Regions from separate parts of the Homo sapiens genome. Here regions 1, 2 and 4 are each linked to region 3. The links are contacts of gene promoters, found by promoter capture Hi-C in human tissues and cell types (Jung and others, 2019). All regions are on one chromosome and are shown on one strand. Each heading gives the region's core, a stretch centred on a gene start or on the middle of the fragment in contact. The rest is flanking DNA. Distances are from core to core; before and after follow the strand shown. Region 1 overlaps APBB2 (amyloid beta precursor protein binding family B member 2). Region 2 has its middle 93 kb from the start of UCHL1. Region 3 holds the start of UCHL1 (ubiquitin C-terminal hydrolase L1). Region 4 has its middle 120 kb from the start of UCHL1.

Region 1 (3,430 bases), core at 638-3,137, 120 kb before region 3:
GTAAACCACTTCATAGGCAGTGCTTTGATTTATACAAGTATATCATGGAGTTTCGGAACATCTGGATTCAAATTTAAATTAGTGGGTGTAAGACTTGAACAAAAATCATTTGATCTCTCCAATCCTGAGCTTCTCTAAAACTGGGTAACACTGTCTCTGTCAAAGAACTGTTGTGAGGATCAAATGAAGTCTGCCCCCGCCTTGAGCCACTCCCATAAGATACTGAGAAAGTGCTTAGTACTTGGCAAACTGCACATGCAACCTCTCCCCAGAAGGGCTTGCATTTTGGCTGTTTCCCTCAATAATACTTCATTTCGTTCCCTCCAGCAAACTACCACAGCTGCCCTCCTTACAGGACACTGCTAACTAGTTCACTTGGAATTTAACTGATTTGCACTGAAGTAACACAAATTCAACATTCCTTATCACTCATATGTTAATGACTGCTCAAGACCAGTGGTCATTTTCAATCCTATTTTAGAATAATCAAGGATCTAAAGTCCTGATTGGAACTCCAGACTTCTTATTTCTAGGAGAATTCATTCCTCAAGTCACTAATTACTGTCTTACTTTTCATATGCTCTGTGACATTTTAACCAGACACCAGAAAAAAAGCCACAGCAGTAACAAACTATATCCTTGAGCCCTCAAAAAAAAAAAAAAAAAAAAAATCACCCTTACAAACCCAAGCATAGCATGGTTACTATGATTCTAAAACCTGTCCTCAAAGGGCCTCAGATGCATGACGATTACATTCAAAACTATATTCTTTCATCCTTAAAGACAGTACACTAACAAACTGCACCGAAAGATTTTTTAATGCAAGCCAGACCAATGTTGATACTTGTTTTTTATAAATTATTATATGTTTTTTCATAGACACTATCCAAACCAGTAGACTATTTTTGTTTATGAATGAAGCCAAGGATCAATGATCAATGCTTATTTGAATAGATAATAATCAATTTGGAAATTTCAGAAACTTTGAATAGCTATCGTGTCATGCGTATAGATCTTATTTGGACAATATAATCAAATTAAACATTTTATGCATCACAGATCAGTATGAAACTGAGAAAGTACTGTTTGTTCTTGTATCAGTAATTATATTAAAATAAATGACTGTATGTCACTCACAGTATCTTTGAAAGCTGTTAAAGAAAACCTATACTTCACAGATTATTCAACATAAAAAAAGACAAGAAAAATATCAAAAGATATATTATTCCAAACTCTGTTAATGTATTTGTCATAAACATCCTCATTACAGATGTATACAAAATTGTGGCTGTACTAAAGAAGCAAGTTCCAGGCACTCTTTTCTTTTCTAGACAGGATCTGGGTCTTGCTATGTTGCCCATGCTGGTCTCAAGCTCCTGGGCTCAAGCAATTCTCTTGCCTCAGCCTCCTGAATAGCTGGGACTACAGATACGTGCCACCACACCCAGTTCCCTGACACTCTCTTCATTCTGGTGTTGACTCAGTGAATGTGACTAGGTTGATCTGATTTTGCTTCATCTGCAAGCAAATGATCATAAATAGGCCAGAGTCTTCATGAATGTAATTGTACTACAACTCAAACTTCAGTGATTCAATCATTTTGAATCCCAACTTCAGCTGGCAAAAAGGCTCTATTCAAAGTAAACGATGGTTAAGAGGTTACTCTAACCCAGCCATGCTTTGATTCAGCTCCCAAAAGAAAACAAGAATAAGAAGACCTTATCTTTCCAGAACATTATACTACACTCCTCATGGAGTCATTCTGTGAATAGGTCACAAAGATGTTTAAAGGGGCAACAGAGAGAAAGAAAAGATTTAAAGAAGTGACTGGGTTAAAAGTTTCATAACACCTATTTCCAGGGACTTAGAGTTATAAATGAAAGCTTACTTATGGCTTTGACTTTAAATGAACAATAAAAAAGATAATTCCATGTTGCTCTATGGATATGTTTTTAGGAGGTGATATTATCAGTTAAAAGACTTCCCAGGAAAGTAAAAGGGCCAGGTAACACACATGTCAGTTGCCATCAAGCTGGTCTACTCAGGTTGAAATGAGAAGATTACGAAGAAAGCAGGAAGCAGATAAGCCATCCTGAGAACTGAGCCCTCCAGGAACCAGGACGCATGGCTTGACCTACTAACGGCACTGCAGAAAACAGGTTCCAAATCTAATAGCATGACTGTAATCTCCAGTTAAAGCCCAGCAGCAATAGTCAGCTCAGCTATGTGCCAGAGAAGGGAAATGTCTCTGCATTTCACCAAGACTTACATTTAGATTTTTTTCACATTAAAAATGTCATGTCCCAAACAAAATTAGGAGTTTATTAGAAAACAAGAGAAAATGATCAACTAGATTCCAAATGTCACAATAAAGCACTGACTTTTAAACAATTTCCTTTTCAATGTTTATGCATCCATAACGCAGTTGTAACTAAAGATATATATATTTTGCAATCTTCACATTTCTAATATAATTATTTTAATGTCTTCACACTTAGCTATTCAGAATCATACTAATACAAAGATAAAAACAGAATAGGTAAATATAAAAATACAGCTAGCATTTTATACTATGAAAAATGTCCCATTTTCATAAAACATATACAACTACACTATGTTACCAAACACACGCAAGACATTTTAATTCATAGGTTTTCTATTTAGTAAAATAATAGTTTTGTGATATGAGACCCAATTCATGTTACCATTAATGAAAATACTTGAAATAATATGCCAGCCTTGTAAAACCTTCATTCAGTAGTTATTGGGAATGATTAAGACAGAGGTAATGAAAAACTTAATCTTTTTTTTTCCAAATGCAGAACAGGTATAAAAATGATTACCACCTTTATGAAAAACAAAGCACTGCTTAAAGTCATATATATAGTAATCTGGAAAATGCACTTTGATTGATTCCACATTGTCATCTACCATATTAGATTTCCATAATTACCCCAAAGAGAAAACACCAAATACTAGTACTCTAACACAGTGACTCATAAAGAACAGAGAGGAAAAGTAGCAAAGGTACAACAGTGTTTTTTAGTGAAGACACTGCATCTTAAGTCCAATTCTTGAACTAACTTTTTTCATAGAAAAATTGCATTGCAAAAACCAGTGTGGTACTAGCATAAGGACAGATGGTAAACCAAAGGCACAGAATTGAGAGTACAGAAAGAAAGCCCTTACATTTGTGGTCAATTGATTTTCTACAAAAAAAGTCAAGTCACTGGTTAGCCTTTTCTGCAAATGGTGCTAAGACCTATATGCAAAAAATAAAAATAAAAAATCAACAAAATAAGATAAACATAGACCCAAACCTCACACCATACATAAAAATTGACCCCAAATGAATTAAACACCAAAATGTAAAGGGTAAAGCAACAAAAGTTTTAGAAAGAGCCTGGGCGCACTGAGGCAGGTGGATCAT
Region 2 (3,220 bases), core at 1-2,500, 92 kb after region 3:
CTCGCTCTGTCGCCCAGGCTGGAGTGCAGTGGCATGGTCTCAGCTCACTGCAACTTCTGCCTCCCAGTTTCCAGTGATTCTTCTGTCTCAGCCTCCTGAGTAACTGGGATTACATGCATGTCCACCATGCCTGGCTAGTTTTTATATTTTTAGTAGAGATGGGGTTTCACCATGTTGGCCAGGCAGGCCTCAAACTCCTGACCTCAGGTGATCCACCCATCTCGGCCTCCCAAAATGCTGGGATTACAGGCATGAGCCACCATGCCCTACCTAATTCTCCATTTTTTTTTTTTTTTTTTTTTTTTCTGGAGATGAGGTCTCACTCTGTCACCCAGCCTGGAGTGTAGTGGTGCAGTCACAGCTCACTGCAGCCTGGAACTCCTGCATACAAGCGATCTTCCCACTTCAGCCTCCTAAGTAGCTAGGACTACAGGCATGCACCAGGCACATGCAGCTAATTTATTTATTTGTTTGTTTTTGTAGAGATGGGTGGGGGGGTCTCCGTATGTTGCTCAGGCTGGTCTCGAACTCTTGGTCTCAAATTATTCTCCTGCCTCAGCCTCCCAAAGTGTTGGCATTACAGGCATAAGCCACCATGCCCAGCCTAATTTCTACTTTGGTGTCTGCTTCTCAGAAGACCAAGACTATCACACTGTTTGACCTCAAAACCTATGCTCTTAAAAAAAATTAACTAAAAATCGATCAAAGACCTAAATGTAAGAGCTACAGCAATAAAACTCTTACAAGTAAACAGCATAAATCTTCATGACCTTGGATTAGTCAATGCTTTCTTAGATATGACACCAAAAGCACCAGCAACAAAAGAAAAAAATAAATAATTAGACCTCATCAGAATGAAAAACTCTGGTACTTCAAAGGACACCACTAAGAAAGTGAAAAGTCCCACTACCAAATGGCAGAAGATATTTGCAAACCATATATCTGGATAAGAGATTTGTATCTAGAATATATAAAGAACTCTTATAACTCAATGATAAAAAGAGAAATAACAACTAAGAATGGACAAAAGTTCTGAATAGACATTTCTCTGAAGAATATGTACAAATGGCCAAAAAGCACAAGAAAAGATGTCTGGCATCATTAGCCATCAGGGAAATGCAAACTAAACCCACAACCAGATACCACAACCAGATACACACTAGGATAGCTATAATAAAAAAACTTGGCAAGTGTTGGCAAGGATGTGGAGAAATTGGAAACTTTATACACTGCTGCTGGGAATGTAAAAGGATGCAGCTGCTGAGGAAAAGTCTGGTCATTCATCAAAAGATTAAACATAGAGTTATCATATGACCCAGCAATTCTACTTTTTCTCCTATACTGAAGAGAAATGAAAACATTTGTCCATACAAAATCTTGTGCATGAATGTTGATAAGCAGCATTATTCATAATAACCAACAAGTGGAAAGAACTGAAGTATCCATCAACTGATGAATGGGAGGGTCCGTTCCAAGATGGCTGAATAGGAACAGCTCCGGTCTGTAGCTCCCAGCGTGACTGACGCAGAAGACGTGTGATTTCTGCATTTCCAACTGAGGTACCTGGTTCATCTCACTGGGACTGGTTGGACAGTGGGTGCTGCCCATGAAGGGTGAGCCGAAGCAGGGTGGGGCATTGCCTCACCTGGGAAGTGCAAGGGGTTGGGGGATTTCCCTTTCCTAGCCAAGGGAAGCCATGACAGACTGTACCAGGAAAAGCGCGACACTGCCACCCAAATACTGTGCTTTTCCAATGGTCTTAGCAAATGGCACACCAGGAGATTATATCCCGGGCGTGACTCAGCGGGTCCCATGCCCATGGAGCCCCGCTCACTGCTAGCACAGCAGTCCATGATTTAACTGTGAGGTGGCAGCCTGGCTGGGGGAGGAGCGTCCGCCATTGCTGAGGCTTGAGTAGGTAAACAAAGCCGCCGGGAAGCTTGAACTGGGTGGAGCCCACCACAGCTCAACAAGGCCTGCCTGCCTCTGTAGACTCCACTTCTGGAAGTAGGGCATAAGTGAACAAAAGGCAGCAGAAACTTCTGCAGACTTAAACGTCCCTGTCTGATGGCTCTGAAGAGAGCAGTGGTTCTCCCAGCGTGGTGTTTGAGCTCTGAGAATGGGCAGACTGCCTCCTCAAGTGGGTCCCTGACCCACATGTTGCCTAACTGGGAGACACCTCCCAGTAGGGGCCGACTGACACCTCATACAGCTGGGTGCCCCTCTGAGATGAAGCTTCCAGAGGAAGGATCAGGCAGCAATATTTGCTGTTCTGCAGCCTCCGCTGGTGATACCCAGGGAAACAGGGTCTGGATTGGACCTCCAGCAAACTCCAACAGACCTGCAGCTGAGGGACCTGACTGTTAGAAAGAAAACTAACAAACAGAAAGGAATAGCATCAACATCAACAAAAAGGACATCCACACCAAAACCCCATCTGTAGGTCACCATCATCAAACACCAAAGGTAGATAAAACCACAAAGATGGGGAGAAAGCAGAGCAGAAAAGCTGAAAATTCTAAAAACAAGAGCACCTTTTCTCCTCCAAAAGATCACAGCTCCTCACCAGCAATGGAACAAAGCTGGACGGAGAATGACTTTGACAAGTTGACAGAAGTAGGCTTCAGAAGGTCGGTAATAACAAACTTCTCTGAGCTAAAGGAGGATGTTTGAACCCATTGCAAGGAAGCTAAAAACCCTGAAAAAAGATTAGATGAATGGCTAATTAGAATAAACAGTGTAGAGAAGACCTTACATGACCTGATGGAGCTGAAAACCATGGCACGAGAACTACATGATGCATGCACAAGCTTCAGTAGCCAATTCCGATCAAGTAGAAGAAAGGGTATCAGTGATTGAAGATCAAATTAATGAAATGAAGTGAGAAGAGAAGTTTAGAGAAAAATGAGTAAAAAGAAATGAACAAAGCCTCCAAGAAATATGGGACTATGTGAAAAGACCAAATCTACGTTTGATGGGTGTACCTGAAAGTGACAGGGAGAATGGAACCAAGCTGGAAAACACTCTGCAGGATATTATCCAGGAGAACTTCCCCAACCTAGCAAGACAGGCCAACATTCAAATTCAGGAAATACAGAGAACACCACAAAGATACTCCTCGAGAAGAGCAACCCCAAGACAGATAATTGTCAGTTTCACCAAGGTTGAAATGAAGGAAAAAATGTTAAGGGCAGCCAGCAAGAAAGGTCGGGTTACCCAC
Region 3 (3,223 bases), core at 237-2,736:
CTTTTTTTCTTTAACAACCTTATTGAGGGAAAATTTACATACCATAAGATTCACCCATTAAGCTCCTCTTACTAATTTTTTTCTCTCTCATTTTTGTGTGTGAAGGTCATTTTCTAATGGCAAAAATGGAAAGAAAATAGAAGTAGAATGTTGTGGAATCTTAGATAAAGAATGGGCTCTTGGAGCCCAGTTTAGCAGGGTTTACTTCTCAGTTTTACTTTTCAATTGTGACCGTAAGCAAATTAACTTCTCTAGGCCTGGGATTCTGATCTGTAAAATTGCACTAATATGAGTCTCTTCACGGCTCCTCTAAGGATTAAATGAGAGACACATGCAAAGGATCCCCAAAAACAATAACTCAAAAAATGTTGATTCCCTCCCTTCCCTCTGTCATCTGTTAACCTCAACTTCCTAAATAGAAGGTCTATTCTTTTACCATCATCATTATTCTCTTCGGTGCCTATTTTTAAAAAATACTCAACCTTCTTGCTTCCTTCGCTACCTAAGTATTTCTGCAAGCCCACTTTGTTCTGCAGCTTAGCTTTCCTGGCACAATTCTTATAGATTTTGGTCCCTTTTAAAATTCATTCTTCAGCAAATGCTTTCTCTCTCCATCTTTTGACTAGAGATCATTAGAGATCACCTGAGATCATTAGAGAACAGTGGTTTCCTTGGTTGCCATTCCCTTTCTTCTTCATTGGGAGTATTCTGCGGTGAACTCAGACATTTTATTTTTCAAAGCTTCCCATTCTTTTAAAAATGCTTTTCCTTTTACAGCCTCTCGCTCAAAATCATACCCATCTTTTCCCTGGATCTGTTTTCTCAAGTCTCCAATCGCCTGCCTTCTTTGTGTCTTGTATTACCCTCACATCCCCCAGCTTTCTACTGCTCTCCCAGGACCAACCATTTCTTCCGCGGGAGTCACATTACATCAGCATTCCTAATGCAGTATCTGTTATCTACCAGATTCTGTTTTATTCTAGGTAGTCACTTAAAAACGAACCTCGGTACTGGTCTGACTTAACATGGAGGAGGAATTGTCTAAGGTTAAACGCAAACTGCTGAGAGATTTGGGGCGGGGGGCACACATTTACATTCATTCGTATTAAATATATACCTGTTGAATTTGTGCTTTTTCTCAAATGCTTCAGAGACTCGAGCTTTAGAGTAATTGGGATGGTGAAAGGATGGGTTTCCAGAAACTTCGCCCAAAATTAAAGACTCCATCAAAAGGACTGCTCCATACACTCAAGGAACACCCACCAACAAATCCCGTCTCCACAACCACCAGATTATCTCACCGGCGAGTGAGACTGCAAGGTTTGGGGGCCCGGCCGTACCACTCCGCGCTGCGCACGGGGGGTTCGTACCCATCTGGCCGCGACCGTCCGTTTCCCCCTCGCTTGGTTCTGCCCCTGCTCCCCCTGCACAGGCCTCACAGTGCGTCTGGCCGGCGCTTTATAGCTGCAGCCTGGGCGGCTCCGCTAGCTGTTTTTCGTCTTCCCTAGGCTATTTCTGCCGGGCGCTCCGCGAAGATGCAGCTCAAGCCGATGGAGATCAACCCCGAGGTGAGCGCCAGGTGCACCGCTACCCGGAGAGCGCGAGGCCGAGGGAGGGGGAGCCGAGTCGCTGATCGGTTCGGTTTTGCCTTTTTCTTTGCATTTGCCTTTCAGATGCTGAACAAAGTGAGTGGCGTCTCGCGCCGTCTCTGGCCCCCTCCCCCGCGAGCGCCGAGGCGGGGGCGCCCACCGGTTCCGGCTGCTGGCAGGGACCAAGCCGCCCGCTGCGAGCACCGGAGACGGCCGGGCTGGGGCGTGGGCTGGGCGCCTTTCCTGGGCCCCTGCATTTAGCGGGTGACTCTACGAAACCGGTCACGGGGAGACGGAGGGGGCTGCGCCCCGTGGCGAGCGAGCGCCAGGCGGAGCTCCCGAGGGCGTGGCGCGGGCAGCACAGACTCGGCTGCACGGGCTTCGCGGGCGCCACGTGTGGGCCGCGCTTTGTGCTGTGTCATTGCGCCGGCCCGGGTGGGGGTGGCAGGGCGGGACTGGGGCTCCTCCCAGGCTCGGGTGCGGGCGCGGAGGGCGCGCGCCTCCTGGCCCCGCCCCCTGGCAGGTGCCCGCGACCCGCGTGTCCCCGTGCGCCTGGCCGCCTTGTCTCCTCTCCGCAGGTGCTGTCCCGGCTGGGGGTCGCCGGCCAGTGGCGCTTCGTGGACGTGCTGGGGCTGGAAGAGGAGTCTCTGGGCTCGGTGCCAGCGCCTGCCTGCGCGCTGCTGCTGCTGTTTCCCCTCACGGCCCAGGTAGGGCGTGGGGCCCAGGATGCGCCGGCCGCCGGCAGTGCACGCCGCTCCCCAGCTTGAGTCCTCGGGGGCTCCCCGCCCCGCCCCCTCCCCTGTAGGTGATGCGGGGCGCGCCTACAAGGAAGGGAGGAGCCTGCATTTTCGTGGTACCTACTCCCTGGGCTCCTGTTCCAGCGGTGCCTGTCGCCTTCTTGCCCATCCGTCCACAATTGCCTTAAATTTGGAAGAGAGGCAGTATCTCAGTTCCATCTATCCCGTTATCCAGGGAAATCATTCATCCTACTCATGAGTTCCCTCGAACTTGGGCTTTTTCGAGCCTCCGGTTCCGGGGAATGGCTGCTGGTTTCCCTTTAAGGGCTATAACCTGTCAACTCATTGTTTGCTTCTCAGACTCCCACCTAGCTGTAGAATGGAGGGGGAAGGGCTGACCTAAATCGCAGGGAAACAATTAGGTTCGCTAATTCTCCGCCTCCATTACTTGGGTTTCTGATGGTCTTAAGGGGTTCTTCTCTCTTCTCCACTCCCACCACTTGCACACTTGGTTTTTAGCCTCTTGAATGTATTTCTTAAAGCTTAATCATTTTGTGTATGGTTTCTGTGTGGGAACCTCCTTCCTCTTCACTTATCCTTGTTCATCTCTGACCTTGTAGCTAACTGAAATAGGGGGTTATTAGCTCAGTTTTGAAAGCACCTTTGCATTTCCCTTGAAATGATTTTCCTCCTACAAGTGTGCATGGATAGATGTATCTGAAAGACAGCGTCAGATTTTTTTTTTTAAAGGATAGCTAGGATATTTGCAGTCTTGTGATGTATGGAATCCCAGTCATTAGCGCATGGCATTGTCTTATCTCCTATTGCTGTCACTTGACCGCTGATGTGGGAGTGACTGAAATTAGCTTTAGCAAAACTTGGGGCATCACTCTAAAG
Region 4 (3,429 bases), core at 181-2,680, 120 kb after region 3:
GCAAAAAGGAAGGCATGGTAGGACCTGGCTTCAGACTTCACATGTCACCATATCTGCCAACTTATCTGCCACTGTATCAGCCACCATAACTTCCTAAGAAGTTAGTCATTAAGTACAGCCCACACCCAAGAGGAGAGGAATTAGACTCCACCTTTTGAAAGGAGGAGTATCAAAGAATCTGTGGACATATTTTAAAGCCATCATAAGTGGCTACACGATCAATATGTAATTTTAACTGTAACTGGTCATTTATCATGTTTTATATATAAGGGATTCAATATTAGATATTCTGATACTAAGTCATTTGTCTAGTCCAGTCTATTTAGATAAATGATGACGGTAAGATATTCTCTCTAGATATATTTTCCAAAATAGGTCTAGTATTTTATTTATTTATTTATTTTTATTTTTATTTTTTTGAGACAGAGTCTCGCTGTGTTGCCCAGGCTGGGGTGCAGTGACGCGATCTCAGCTCACTGCAACCTCCATCTCCTGGGTTCAGGCAGTTCTCCTGCCTCAGCCCCCTGAGTAGCTGGGATTACAGGTGTGCACTACCACACCTGGCTAATTTTGTATTTTTAGTAGAGATGGGGTTTTGCCATGTTGGCCAGGCTGGTCTCAAACTCCCTGACGTTAACCTCAGGTGATCCACCCGTTTTGGCCTCCCAAAGTGCTAGGATTACAGGTGTGAGCCACCATGCCCAGCCAGGTCTAGTATTTTAAACACCACCACTACCACCACCACCAAACAATATAGGAATAAAAATGCTTCCACTCTGAAATCCCACCTGATATAGGTAATCACTGGTAATATGCACTATTTATATTGAAACTCATGTTACTGAAAGTTTTGATTAGTTCTGGAAACTTTTATTTAAACAAAATCTTACAGAGATTTGATATCTTCTTTTCTTTTCTTTCTTCTTTCTTGTAGAGATGGTATCTCACTTTGTTGCCTAGGCTGGCCTTGATCTCCTCCTGGCCTCAAGCAATCCTGCCCTGGCCTCCCAAAGTGCTGGGATTACAAGCATGAGCCACTGCACCCAGCCTGAGATTTGATTTGATATTTTCTTTTCTTTCTTTTTTTTTTTTTAGATAAGCATGTAATAATAATTACTGCCTCCCTGCTAGTGGAGAGCTCTGGCTCAGCAGTTCTCAACTCTGGCTACACATTAGAATTATTTGGGAGCTTTTGATTTAAAATGATCTGGATCAGGGCCTGAGCATTGTTATTTTATAGACATTTTCCCCCAAGTGATTGCAATGTGCAGCCAGGGTGGAGAACACAGCAGATGACAAAATAAGTGAGTAAGTTGCACTGGGCGATATTGGCAGATCTAAGATTTAAAACTTGTTTGAATGATTATTTATGTGGGGGTGTGTGAAGAGATGTGCATCCAGGGAATACAGTTATATTCTGTCTGCCAACAACATCATTCCTAGTTCACATGATGGAATAAAATAATCAGTATTTTATGGCATACTATAAAGAGTAGTAGAATGTTCTAGATACCTGAGCAGATTTGACCACAGCTTCTTTAGGAGAATCTTCTTATTTTCTGCACTGAATCATAGGCATTCCTGAGTGTAAAGTCATATCACAATCAGTTATTCTTTGTACAAATGTCCTAATTTATTCATTTATTCAATAAACAGATCTTGAACACTTACTGTGTGCCAGGTAGGTGCATTTAATATCCAAGCCACTGAATGCCAGGCACTGAATGCCCAAGGAAGAACTTAACCTTATTCTTAAACTAATATCTTAATATAGATTCTAGCACCAAGTGAGTGATTCTCAGTCCCATAGAGGAGACAAACAGGTGCACAAAAGTGGAGGCCAAGGTAACTAAATTTAAATAACTGTACAGCACAGCACCAACCAATCAGAGCAGACCCAGTGACAGTAGTGCCTGCCATGGTGAATACCGGCTGTCTGTCAGCTCCAAGTATCGGTAATACGAAGTGCAGTATTTTAAACACCCAAAGAGGAATGTAAACAAGAGGGAGCAGAGAGAAGGGAACCACTTTTATAATTCCAAATTCATGTTTCCCTCACAGAGGGAGCTGAATTGGTGTGGTTGGCTATACCAGTTTTCCATCCTGTCCTGTGTACATACCCCTTGCCAAGTGACTGCCGTTCTTCTCCCTGAAGAGGTGGAGTCTGTTTCCTGACTCCTTGGATTCGGGCAGGCCCTCTGACTTGCTTTGGCCAGTAGAATGCAGCAGAAGTGATGAGGTGCCTGTTCCAAGCTTAGGCTGTAAGACACCTTGGGTAATTCTGCTTGTTCTTTCTCCTCTGTCATCGCTGTGACAAGATGCCCCAGATGGCCTGCTGGAGGATGAGAGACCTGGACAAAGCCAAATTGCCCCACTTGCCCCAGACAAGGCTATCCTAGATCAGCTAATAGCCAGCCAGCACCTACAGTGAAGTTTCTCAGCAGAAGCACTTTGACATTAGGGGTTGGATCATTGTGTTTTGGGGAGCTGTTCATTTTAGGATGGTTAGCATCATCCCTGGCCTGTACTCACCGGATCCCAGTAGTACCCCCACTGCCAAAGGTGTGACAACCAAAAATGTCTCCAGACATTGCCAGATGCCCCCAAGGGGCAAAACATCCTCTGATTGAGAACTTGTGCTCCAGACTTATGAGTGCGTCCAGCTAAGATCAGCAGTGCTACCTAGTTTCTGACCGCAGATACATGAGCAGTAAATGCCTAGTGTTGTTTACCACTGAAGTGTGTGGATATTTGTCTCATAGCATTGTTGTGGAATAGGTAGCTAATACAGTGATCAAAAACATGGAAACATGGAAGTGGGAGATGGAACTGGACAATTGGAAGTAGTCCAGTTGGGTGGGAACTTGACAAGTAGATTTGTAGGTAGAGTTGGGTTAGTGTGAAGTACAGACGAGGCTAGAAAGCTAGGGTAGGCTGTATCCGTGGAGAATTTAGGTGCCTTGGTATGAACTGGGGACACGGTTATTCATGGGCGGGGGAGGGAGGGGTGCTGTCAGAGGTTTTAGTTATGTATTTATAGCCAAGGAAACAGGGCTATGAGTTTGTACTGTAGGCAGCAGTAGGGAGGGGGAATTGGAAGCAGGAGGGAGGGCTCTGCAGTAGTTCAGTTGATGCATACATAAGGCCTGAATTAGGGAATTAGGAGAGTGATCATAGGTGTGGAAAGGAGGGGAGGGCTTCCAGGCACATTTGGTGTAAAATGGATACAACTTGGTAACCTGTACATTGCTACCTTTGCACATTTGGTTTCCCCTGTCTCAAAGGCTCCCTCTTCTCGAGTGTTGCTCTACTCAACCATCAATACTCAGCTCAACACTCAGGGAAGTCTTTTTGGTAGTCTTCCACGTCTCGTGAAGGCAGAGCTTATATGGCTGTCACCATTGTTTTTTTGATACAGAGTCTTGCTAC

Evidence for each region. The method cuts DNA at HindIII sites, captures the fragments that hold promoters and counts their contacts. A contact is called where the count stands out against the background at its distance.
Region 1: a fragment that was not itself captured here is called in contact with the fragment with the promoter of UCHL1 in region 3 in 2 of the 25 tissues and cell types used here (hippocampus and psoas muscle).
Region 2: a fragment that was not itself captured here is called in contact with the fragment with the promoter of UCHL1 in region 3 in 3 of the 25 tissues and cell types used here (mesenchymal stem cells, neural progenitor cells and pancreas).
Region 4: a contact is called between a fragment that was not itself captured here and the fragment with the promoter of UCHL1 in region 3, in 2 of the 25 tissues and cell types used here (hippocampus and mesenchymal stem cells).

The regions. Positions count from the first base shown.
Region 1 is chr4:41,134,521-41,137,950 of GRCh38, forward strand. All of the region lies in intron 2 of APBB2 (amyloid beta precursor protein binding family B member 2), which reads right to left. Among named protein-coding and RNA genes, the nearest start is that of APBB2, 78 kb to the right of the region's middle. The HindIII fragment of the contact is 9,257 bases long and covers 1-3,430 here.
Region 2 is chr4:41,347,996-41,351,215 of GRCh38, forward strand. No RefSeq gene overlaps it. Among named protein-coding and RNA genes, the nearest start is that of UCHL1, 93 kb to the left of the region's middle. The HindIII fragment of the contact is 6,105 bases long and covers 1-3,220 here.
Region 3 is chr4:41,255,442-41,258,664 of GRCh38, forward strand. It overlaps UCHL1 (ubiquitin C-terminal hydrolase L1), which reads left to right and starts at 1,487. Exons shown (of 9, transcript NM_004181.5): 1 at 1,487-1,568; 2 at 1,674-1,685; 3 at 2,168-2,296. The coding sequence starts at 1,536. UCHL1-DT (UCHL1 divergent transcript) reads right to left here and starts at 1,286. Exons shown (of 3, transcript NR_102709.1): 1 at 1,118-1,286. RefSeq lists a silencer at 1,603-2,362 and an enhancer at 2,197-2,697. The HindIII fragment of the contact is 4,741 bases long and covers 1-3,223 here.
Region 4 is chr4:41,379,398-41,382,826 of GRCh38, forward strand. It overlaps a transcript of LIMCH1 not described here. Among named protein-coding and RNA genes, the nearest start is that of UCHL1, 120 kb to the left of the region's middle. The HindIII fragment of the contact is 3,663 bases long and covers 1-3,262 here.